Linked DNA regions of Homo sapiens: regions 1 and 2 are each linked to region 3. The links are contacts of gene promoters, found by promoter capture Hi-C in human tissues and cell types (Jung and others, 2019). All regions are on one chromosome and are shown on one strand. Each heading gives the region's core, a stretch centred on a gene start or on the middle of the fragment in contact. The rest is flanking DNA. Distances are from core to core; before and after follow the strand shown. Region 1 holds the start of AGFG2 (ArfGAP with FG repeats 2). Region 2 holds the start of TSC22D4 (TSC22 domain family member 4). Region 3 holds the start of TAF6 (TATA-box binding protein associated factor 6).

Region 1 (3,295 bases), core at 575-3,074, 420 kb after region 3:
CCCAATCTCTACAAAAAATTTTTAAAAATTCGCCAGGCATGGTGGTGCACAGCTGTACTCCCAGCTACTTGGAAGGCTGAGGTGGAAGGATCACTTGAGTCCAGAAGGTTGAGGCTGCAGTGAGCCATGATTGTGTCACTGCACTCCAGCCTGGGTGATAAAGCGAGACCCTGTCTCAAAAAAAAAGTAATTGTTTTAAAAATGGTGACCAACCCAATCTGAAGTACCCAACAGGTGGCCAGGCATTGTGGCTCATGCTTGTAATCCCAGCACTTTGGGACGCCAAGGCGGGAGGCTCACTTGAGGCCATGAGTTTGAGACCAGCCTGGCCAACATGGTGAAATCCTGTCTCTACTAAAAATACAAAAATTGGCCGGGCGCGGTGGCTCACGCCTGTAATCCCAGCACTTTGGGAGGCCAAGACCGGCGGATCACGAGGTCAGAAGATCGAGACCATCCTTGCTAACACGGTGAAACCCCGTCTCCACTGAAAATACAAAAAAATTAGCCAGGCGTGGTGGCGGGTGCCTGTAGTCCCAGCTACTCGGGAGGCTGAGGCAGGAGAATGGCGTGAACCCAGAAGGCGAAGCTTGCAGTGAGCCGAGATCGTGCCACTGCACTCCAGCCTGGGCGACAGAGCGAGACTCCATCTCAAATAATAATAATCATAATAATAAAAATACAAAAATTATCTGGGGGTGGTGGTGGCCGCCTGTAATCCCAGCTACTCAGGAGACTGAGGCATGAGAATTGCTTAAACCCAGGAGGCAGAGGTTGCAGTGAGCTGACATCGTGCCACTGCACTCCAGTCTGGGCAACAGAGTGAGACTCCATCTCAAAAAATTAAAATTAAATTAAAAAATTAAAAAAGTACCCAAAAAGTCTTTTCCAAGATGTGATTTTAATTCTCTGCGTAGGATTTATTACTAACTGGTGATTCTTTAATTTGTGTATTGTTTGCTTCCCCCTACTAGAAACTAAGCTCTATAAGAATATTTTGTTTGATTGCTTCGCTGCTGTATTCTATTCCCAGTGTCTAGAACGTGCCTGAAACCTAGCAGACACTCAGTGTTTGTTAAATGAATAATCGAATAATAGTCCACCTACTAGGAGGGTTAAAGGCAGGGTTTCTAAAGTTGGAAGACCCAGAGTGGAATCCTGGGCCACGCACTCGTGTGATCTGCCGCAAGTTGTTGAACCTAAGGGTGTAAAATGGGGATTCCACCTCTGGGATAGGCGGAGCGAATGAAATGACATTTATAAAGCACTCCCTTCGCTCTGTGGCTCAGGAATTAGAGCACTGGTCTAGTAAAGCACTCTTGCTCCCTCTCCCTCTCTCCCTTAAGCGCTCTCTTCTTTCCCCCTCCTGCTCAGCCCCTCACATGGCCACTTCTCTTCGGCTTTGCATGACACTCTACACAGTCTAGAGTAAGCCTTTGAAATTTGCCGGGAATTAACGTCATCAGTCGGGAGGACGACAGCTACGCACGCGCGGGGCACCTCCTCTGTCTCGCGCGCTAACTTTGCAGCCCCGCCAGCCAATCAAAATTAGCGTCGGAGCCCGAGTGCCGAGGACTCACCAATCGGAACTAGGAGGCGGGCCACGGTGGAGGCAGCGGCGAGAGGGGGCGGGGACAAGGAGAGGGCACGCACGGTTCTCGCTGCTGGGGTCTCTGCCGGCCAATAGGAGAGGCCTGAGGCCTGAAGGCGGTGGGGCGGGGCATTGGCGGCTCCAGCAACCGGAGGCCGTCCCAGGGAGGGCCAATCGGAGTAAGGAGGTGGGAGAAACCTAGCCAATCAGTGTGCAGGACGGGCAAGGAGGGTGGTGGACGGCGAAGTCTCCTGCGGATGCCGCCCGCTCCCGAGCTTCTGTCAGGGGAGCCGGGCGTGCGGAGGCGGCTGAGGAGGCGGGAAGGCGGCAGTGGTTGAAGGGGTGATTGCTGACTAGCGGGGAGGGAGTGGGCAGCGATGGTGATGGCGGCGAAGAAGGGCCCGGGCCCGGGCGGCGGGGTCAGCGGGGGCAAGGCGGAGGCGGAGGCGGCCTCGGAGGTGTGGTGCCGTCGGGTGCGGGAGCTGGGTGGCTGCAGCCAGGCCGGGAACCGCCACTGCTTCGAGTGCGCCCAGCGCGGGGTCACCTACGTGGATATCACCGTGGGCAGCTTCGTGTGCACCACCTGCTCCGGCCTCCTGTGAGTGACCGGGAGGGAGTGGCCGAGGTCGGCGTGGGGGGACCCGGGGGCGGGGTGGGGAGGCCGGGGCTCCGGGGCGCGAGGGAAGGGGGCCGAGGTGAGGGGCGGAGGGGAGGTCAGGGAACGCGCCGGCTGTGGGGACGGGGTCGTCTGCTGCAGCGGTGTGGTGGGGAGGGGAAAGGGCAGGGGAGAGGAAGCAAGGCCGGAGTCGCTCTGCGGAGAGAAGGGTACGGGTGCAGAAAGACGCCCGGAGAGGGACCGAGAAACTCCCCGAGGGGGTCGAGGCAAACTGCAAGTGGGGAGGGAGAAAGTGCGGAGGATGGAAGGGAACTCGGAGTGGGATGGGGTGTCGGGACTTAAAGGGCCAGAAAATGACATGCACCTTTAGAGGGAACTTCATGCAGGTGGAAAGCAAAAAGGAAAAAGGTGGGGAAAGCCGGCCTGGAGATGGACGGGCACCTTTCTTCCTTCGGGCTTGTGTCCCTGCTGGAGTGTGAGATGCAGAAGCCAGCTGAAACTTGGTTGAAATTCCTATGATTAGAGTACAGGATTAAAAAAAAAAAAAAAAGCGAATTAACCCCGATTGACAGCCTAGAGATAGTGGCTGGAAGGGAGCCATGGTCCAGAGTTCAGGTGTAGATACTAATCTTAGCAGGGCTTTGAAATGTTACCCAGAAGGTAAAACTCTTACGAAATCTAAGAGATGAGAGCCAATGGGTTACCCTGGTAGAGAGCTTAGCTTTTTCAAACGTTTGCACGTCTAGGTGAGCCATCCTGAAGGTTAATCATTTACACCTTTAAGATCCCTGTTGCCATGACTGGATCCTGGTGGTAGCATCCAGGAAACTCTAGATTTTGGGGGGGCTTTGGTGCATCATCTGAGTGCTACTCTTGGCATTGGTACTGTTCGGTCATGCCAGAGTGAATTTACAGCCACAATTCTAGCCTAGATTTCTGGTTATATAGTAAAGCCCCCTCCACTCCCCTCTGCACTCCTCCTACTCCCAAATTAAGATATTATTTGGTTAGATGCATGATTAACATCTGATATCAGGCCTGGATCTCTGTTTTTTAATAAGTTTGTCAAGGGATTTATTTTGACAATT
Region 2 (3,448 bases), core at 781-3,280, 360 kb after region 3:
AAGGAGGAGGAGAGGGGGGGGAGGAGGAGGAAGGAGGCTCAAGATAGAGGTTAGGCCAGGGCTGATGGGCCAGCCCTAGAACCCAGGTCTTACCTGCCCCATCTCTTCTGGAGCACCCAACTCCATCCGCAGCCGCATGTCTACAGCTTTCCTCCGGGACAGTGGAGGGGTCCTGGCCCCTGAGCCCCCAGCCTCCGCTTCCACCCTCAGAGAGGGCAGGGGCGTGGCAGCCCGGGATGTGCCCGCACTCTCACCGGTCTCAGGCTCTGGGGGGCGCTGCTGGGGTGAGGAGGCCGACAGTGGGGGTTTCTCTGCCTTGGCTTTGCTGGGCACCACCAGCTGGCCCAGTCCCCCAGTGAAGGAGCGGGCCTGAGGTCCAGGAGAGGTGGGGGGTGGACGGAGCCAGGAGGTGGGGCCCTGAGACAGGCCTGACGGTGGGGTGGGGGCGCCCAGGCCGAGGCTGGCCAGCTCCAACCTGGAATCCAAAGATCTGCCCCCGGCGCCCCCTGAGGCCCCTCGAATTCCCTCCAGGAGTCCGCCGAAGCTGTGGGGCTCCAGGTCTCGCTCATAAACATCCACACACGTCCAGCGACCGCGGCGATAAGGCTCTCCCAGGCCGTGGGGCAGCTTCACCACCCGGAAACGGGAGGAAGGGGCCCCAGGTGGTGGGGAGCCATTCCGGGGGGTGCCCTTGCCCCCCGGATCGGGGCTGGGCTCCCCATTGGGCAGGCGGGGCGGGGGCCCGGTTGGGGGCTGTGGGGTAGGGGGATCCGAAGCCCCTGGGCTCCCAGGGCCCTCATAGTCCGTGGTGACGCTGGTGATTTGGAAACTACTCTTCTTCTTGCCCCCGCTCATGGTCCCTGGGGCTCAGGGCTGGGCCAAGGTTGGGGGTGGGTTGGGGCTCCTTGAAGGGGCTCAGGCACCCCTGGAACAAGGGGGCCACATGGCGGGGACATCCGAGCCCCTGGGGACGTCTGGGTCCGACATGGCAGGAGGGCCTGGCGGGAACCGGGGGTGCCTGCTGGGTGAGGGGAGAAGAGGAGAGGGGAGGTGGCGGGAGGGGGGAGCAGGGGCAGGTTTTTCCTGCTGCTGTTGCTGCTGAACTCCAGAGCTGAGTTTGCAAACTGGAAAAAGAGGGGGAGAGAGAGAGAGAGAGAGAGAGAGAGAGTGTGTGTGTGTGTGTGTGTGTGTGTGTGTGTGTGTGTGTGTGTGTGTGTGAAACCAGTGGGCAGGCCACCTCCGGGGCTTCCTCTCCGGGGAGCAGAGTGGGGGAAGGGGAAACCGTCAGAGACCCAGAGACAGGCAAGAGATGACAGAGACCAGGGCAGAGGGGACTGGATCCAAGAAGGCACTCAGAGTAGAAAGAGGCAGATGAGTCCCAGAGTTGGGCATTTCTCGCCTGGGATTCTGACTCAGGGGGCCCGTATTGTCCCAAGAGCTCGGACTCCAGGGCCTGGGAGAACCAGGCTGAAGCAGCTCCCCAGCCTGGCCCGGCCACTCAGAGAGACCTCTCCTGGGCCTCGAGCCCCCACCCTCACCCCAGCTCCCACATCTCTGGGGCAGGCCCTGCCCGGCTACCCCCCAGCGCCCCACCCAGCCCTGAACCCTACCTCTGGGGCCTCGGCCACTGATCTGAGCCTGAGGGTCCCGGCGCCTAAGAGGTCGGGCTGTCCGTTCCCTGGGGCCTCCTGGCCATGGGCAGTGGCGGGGCACGCAGGCGGCGATCAGAGGCTGTCCCGTCCTCTCCGGGGGCCGCGGCTCATCCTGCCAGGCATCTCCGAGGAAAGTTTGCTCTCCGGAAAAGAAGAAACCCGCGCCTCCTCCGAGGAGCCTAGGAGCGGCCTCTGAAGCCCCAAGGGTCTGGAGACTGATGTGGGAGGGGGCGGCCGAGCCCCCCTCTGCTCCCGGTGGCAGCCAGCGAGTGGGTGTCCCGAGTCTCCTCCCGCGTGACCCTGCTGGGTCCGTGTCTCCGCTCCTCGGCTCCCCTGGGTCTCTGCCTCTCCGTCTTTCTCTTTCTGGGCTGTTGACAACCCCCACACCAGGAAGTCCTGCCTCCTCGGGCCTGCTGACTGCTCCTCTCCTCCTCCTCCTCCTCCTTCCCCTCTTCCTCCCCTTCCTCCTCCCTCCCTCCCTCCTGGGGCTTCCCGCCAGCTGGCCCGGGGCCAGGCCTGCCACAGCCGCTGCTGTTGCAGTTGCTGCAGCCACTGCTTAGGCTGCTGCTCCTGGGGGCCCCAAACAGACTCCCTTAACCCCACACCTGCCGGGCCCTAGCCCCACTCTTGCAGGGAGGGGCTGCAGGGGGCGGGGCTCGGGGAGAAAGGGGAGGAGCTTGCAGGGAGGCGAGGGATTCCCTTACTTGTAGTCAATTGCTGCCATTGGCCTAGAGACACACAGAAGAGACGGAAGGCACAGGCCGGGAGGTGTGCTGCATGCCCACCCAGAAGTTCCCAGTCCCTGCTGTGGGGCAGCTGTGGCTGTTACTGTCATTCTCCTTTGGTTTTCACAGCAACTGCATTATTCCCCCCATTCCTTATTTTTAAAAGTGGATTATTGCCGGATCCCGGTGGTGGCTCATGCCTGTAATCTCCGCACTTTGGGAGGTCGAGGAAGGAGGATCGCTTGAGACCAGTTTGGACAATATAATAGCAAGACCCCATCTCTACAAAAAATAAAAAAAAATAGCTGGGCATGGTGATGTGCACCTATAATTCCAGCTACTCAAAGGTGGGAGGATCGCTTGAGCCCAGGAGTTCGTGACCAGCCTGGGCAATATAACGAGATCCCCATCTCTACAAAAAATTTAAAAAATTAGCACTTTGGGAGGCCGAGGCGGGCGGATCACGAGGTCAAGAGATTAAGACCATCCTGGCCAACATGGTGAAACCAAGTCTCTACTTAAAATACAAAAATTAGCCAGGTGTGGTGGCGGGCACCTGTAGTCCCAGCTACTCGGGAGGCTGAGGCAGGAGAATCACTTCAACCTGGGAGGCGGAGGTTGCAGTGAGTCGAGATCACGCCACTGCACTCCAGCCTGGTGACAGAGTGAGACTCCATCTTAAAAAAAAAAAAAAACTGAGTGTGGTGATGTATACCTGTAGTCCCAGCTACTCAGGAGGCTGTGAGGCAGGAGGATCTCTTGAGCCCAGGAGGTTGAGGATGCAGTGAGCCAAGATTGTGCCACTGCACTCCAGCCTGGGCAACAGAGTGAGACCATGTCTCAAAAAAAAAAAAAAAGTGGATTATTATGAAAATTTTCAAACATGCCATGCAGACATGGGGAGACCATGCAAACTCCACACAGATGGTGGTCCCAGCCCAAAATCAATTTTTAGAAAATCATCAATGTTATAATGAAATGACATTCAATGAAATGACATTGTGTGGGGGCCAGCTGTAGTTTGCTGGACTATTTGAAATCAGATCCTAGATGTTATACTATTCCCCTTTC
Region 3 (3,146 bases), core at 218-2,717:
AAATTAGCCAGGCATGGTGGCAGGCACCTATAGTCCCTGCTACTCGGGAGGCTGCTGAGGCAGGAGAATGGCGTGAGCCCGGGAGGCGGAGCTTGCAGTGAGCCGAGATCGCACCACTGCACTCCAGCCTGGGCAACAGAGCCAGACTCTGTCTCAAAAAAAAAAAAAAAACAAAAAAAGCAAAGTGGAGCCAGGTGCAGTGGCTCACGCCTGTAATTTGGGAGGCCAAGGCGGGAAGATCACCTGAGGTTAGGAGTTCGAGACCACCCTGGCCAACATGGTGAAACCCTGTCTTTTTGTAAAAACACAAAAATTAACCAGACATGGTGGCGGGCGCCTGTAGTCCCAGCTATCTGGGAGGCTGAGGTGGGAGAACCGCTTGAACCAGGAAGCGGAGGTTGCAGTGAACCGAGATCGTGCCACTGCACTCCAGCCTGGGCGATAGAGAGAGACTCCATCTCAAAAAAAAAAAAAAAGCAAATTGGAGCCAAGAGAGGTAACTCACCCCAGTAATCCCAGCACTTTGGAAGGCAGAGGTGGGGGGATTGTTTGAGGCCAGGAGTTTGAGACAGCCTGGTCAACATAGTGAGACCCCCATTTCTGCAAAAATTAAAAAATTAGACGGACCTGGTGGTGTGAACCTGTCATCCCAGCTACTTAGGAGGCTGAGGCAGGAGGATCGCTTGAACTGAGGAGTTGGAGGCTGCAGTGAGCCAAGATGGTGCCACTGCACAACAGCCTGGGTAACAGACGGAAACCCTGTCTCAAAAAAAAAACAAAAAAAAATTAAAGTGGCACACTTGCAGTTGGACATTAGGAAGATTAACATATCAATACTGCTTAGGAGTAGTACAGGTAGGGTGGGGCCGTGCTGGAAGGATGGGAAGAGGGAGGCCGAAAAACAAATTGGTTCTTTTCAAACCATCCCTGATCTCCTCCCCGACTTTTATAAGTCTTATCTATAGGGAACACAACTATTCGAGACATACTCTGTGCCTGGCGCCGGGTTTACAAGAGGGGGTCGTGTCCCACTTCCCTGGCGAACTCCTACGAATCCTTCAATACCCGGCGGTACCCTCTGCCAGTAAAGGCTCATAAAACACGCTACAGTCACAGGATCTCCTCAGATCAGTGGAGGCGGCAGGAAGGCGTCCCAGGGAAGGGTTAACTTAAGCGAGATCCCAGCAGAGAAGCAGGTCGAAGATCCCCGGGCAGCGCGAAAGGAGGTTCAGAGAGCCCACCCCATCTCCTGCAACATCTCTCCAATGCAGGCACACACACGGGGTCCCCACGAGCACAGACACACAACCAACCGTCCTCTTTCCAGTCCCCACAAGGGACCTTCAAAGGGTCTCCTCCGGGGTACCACTCAGACCCGCCCCCGCCACCCGAGCGCGGGGAGCAGGAAAACTCTAGCGGCAGCCGAGACGCTGCTCACCCGGCGCTCGGCGCCATCTTGGCCCCGCCCCCTCGTGGGAGCAGGTCCTGGCAGAGCCTAAGAGCAAGTCACTGCCCCTTCCCCGTACCAGAATAAGTCCTCTAGGCTCGCAGAATGAAATTATATTTTAAAAGTTTGTTTCTACATCTATATATAAGGAGCACTCCCTCTTGGTGTAATTACTGCAATTTATTCCTTCACTACCCGGCTGCCAGGACCTTCAAGAGGCGCCACAAAACGGAGGCAGGGAAACCCGTAGCAACGAGGCCCCACCCTTGTTGGGCTGATCCTGCGCATGCGCCGACCTTCCTCGGCTGGATTTAAGGTTGCCGCTAGCCGCCTGGGAATTTAAGGGACCCACACTACCTTCCCGAAGTTGAAGGCAAGCGGTGATTGTTTGTAGACGGCGCTTTGTCATGGGACCTGTGCGGTTGGGAATATTGCTTTTCCTTTTTTTGGCCGTGCACGAGGCTTGGGCTGGGATGTTGAAGGAGGAGGACGATGACACAGAACGCTTGCCCAGCAAATGCGAAGGTATTTGAAGGGGGTAGCCCCTATAGGCATCGCCCGGCCACACCTCCTTCTTCTAGGCCGGACATCCTAGCCTGTATTGGGTGGGTCACCCGACCTCCTTGAAGGCTTGAGGGAGGTTCTGGTGGAGCTTGGCTGAATTTGGATGGGGTCAAGGAAGCGAACGTGTAGTGCCACCTCAAACTGCATCCAGAGAGAGCCTGCATTTTTTTGGCTGGCTTGGAACCCCCCGCCCGCCAATGGATTGTGGGAATTGTAGTTCAGGGACCATCGGCCCGGGACTGCCAACTTTTAGAGCATCTTCAGTGAGTGTTTACCTCATGTCACCAGACCTTAATCTGCAGAGGCTGCAGGAGCCGGGTGTGAGGCTCAGGCCTTGTGGACATCCGCTGCCCTACCCTAGCATAGACGCTCCCAAATTACAGGCCCCACACCCCGCTGAGGGGGTTTGAGGGTGAGTAATTCAGCCTTTGAAGCTCATAAACAAAAGGAAGCCACACAACTAGGAGAGTGTCCCCATCCGGTGAGACTTTGCAGACGGTGCGTACTATATGGATTTTTCAGCAAGCAGCGCCTTCCATAGCTGCACTAGCGTGGGGCCCAGTTGAGAAAGGGGGCTGGCCCTGATGCCCTAGTTTGCTGCCCTCCTGACTTTACGTTTCTTCCCTGGATTCCTTTTCTCTTCGCTTCACCCCCTCAACTGTATTCCAGTATCATGAAAGGCAGTCATGACAGTCTCATGACTTGGTCCTCATCTCTGTCTCCTTTCACCTCCGTGTGCCGCTCTTCTCCCCTGACCTGTCAATCTTTTTAAACAGACTTAATCACCTAATTGTATCAGTCCTTGCTTTAACACCTCTGCAGGCCTTCTATCAGAATACAGCCAACGGGCCTGGGCACAGTGGCTCACATCTGTAATCCCAGCACTTTGGAAGGCCAAGGTGGGAGGATCACTTGAGCCCATGAGTTCAGGCCCAGCTTCACCACAGCTTGTCATCCTTGGTTTATCTGTCCCAACTACACTGACAGAGACCTGTAGATAGAGATAATAGGTCTTATTGCTGTCTATATTGTTAGTATGCATACAGAAGGAGCTCAATAAATAACTGCAGGATAACAGTGAATACTTATACAGTGCTCACTATGTGCCAGCCTTTATATATGTTGATTTATTTAA

The links. The method cuts DNA at HindIII sites, captures the fragments that hold promoters and counts their contacts. A contact is called where the count stands out against the background at its distance.
Region 1: the fragment with the promoter of AGFG2 here is called in contact with the fragment with the promoter of TAF6 in region 3 in 1 of the 25 tissues and cell types used here (aorta).
Region 2: a contact is called between the fragment with the promoter of TSC22D4 here and the fragment with the promoter of TAF6 in region 3, in 1 of the 25 tissues and cell types used here (bladder).

What each region holds. Positions count from the first base shown.
Region 1 is chr7:100,537,379-100,540,673 of GRCh38, forward strand. It overlaps AGFG2 (ArfGAP with FG repeats 2), which reads left to right and starts at 1,825. Exons shown (of 12, transcript NM_006076.5): 1 at 1,825-2,189. The coding sequence starts at 1,969. RefSeq lists an enhancer at 1,175-1,676 and silencers at 1,556-1,835, 1,886-2,185. The HindIII fragment of the contact is 17,077 bases long and covers 1-3,295 here.
Region 2 is chr7:100,477,184-100,480,631 of GRCh38, forward strand. TSC22D4 (TSC22 domain family member 4) reads right to left here and starts at 2,031. Exons shown (of 5, transcript NM_030935.5): 1 at 1,611-2,031; 2 at 94-1,124. The coding sequence starts at 855. It overlaps TSC22D4-C7ORF61 (TSC22D4-C7orf61 readthrough), which reads right to left and starts at 2,031. Exons shown (of 6, transcript NM_001395846.1): 1 at 1,611-2,031; 2 at 94-1,124. The coding sequence starts at 855. RefSeq lists enhancers at 1,667-1,736, 2,437-2,546 and a silencer at 2,187-2,346. The HindIII fragment of the contact is 44,126 bases long and covers 1-3,448 here.
Region 3 is chr7:100,117,891-100,121,036 of GRCh38, forward strand. It overlaps TAF6 (TATA-box binding protein associated factor 6), which reads right to left and starts at 1,468. Exons shown (of 15, transcript NM_139315.3): 1 at 1,314-1,468. CNPY4 (canopy FGF signaling regulator 4) reads left to right here and starts at 1,744. Exons shown (of 6, transcript NM_152755.2): 1 at 1,744-1,972. The coding sequence starts at 1,855. RefSeq lists enhancers at 1,421-1,570, 1,781-2,000, 2,371-2,440. The HindIII fragment of the contact is 13,440 bases long and covers 1-3,146 here.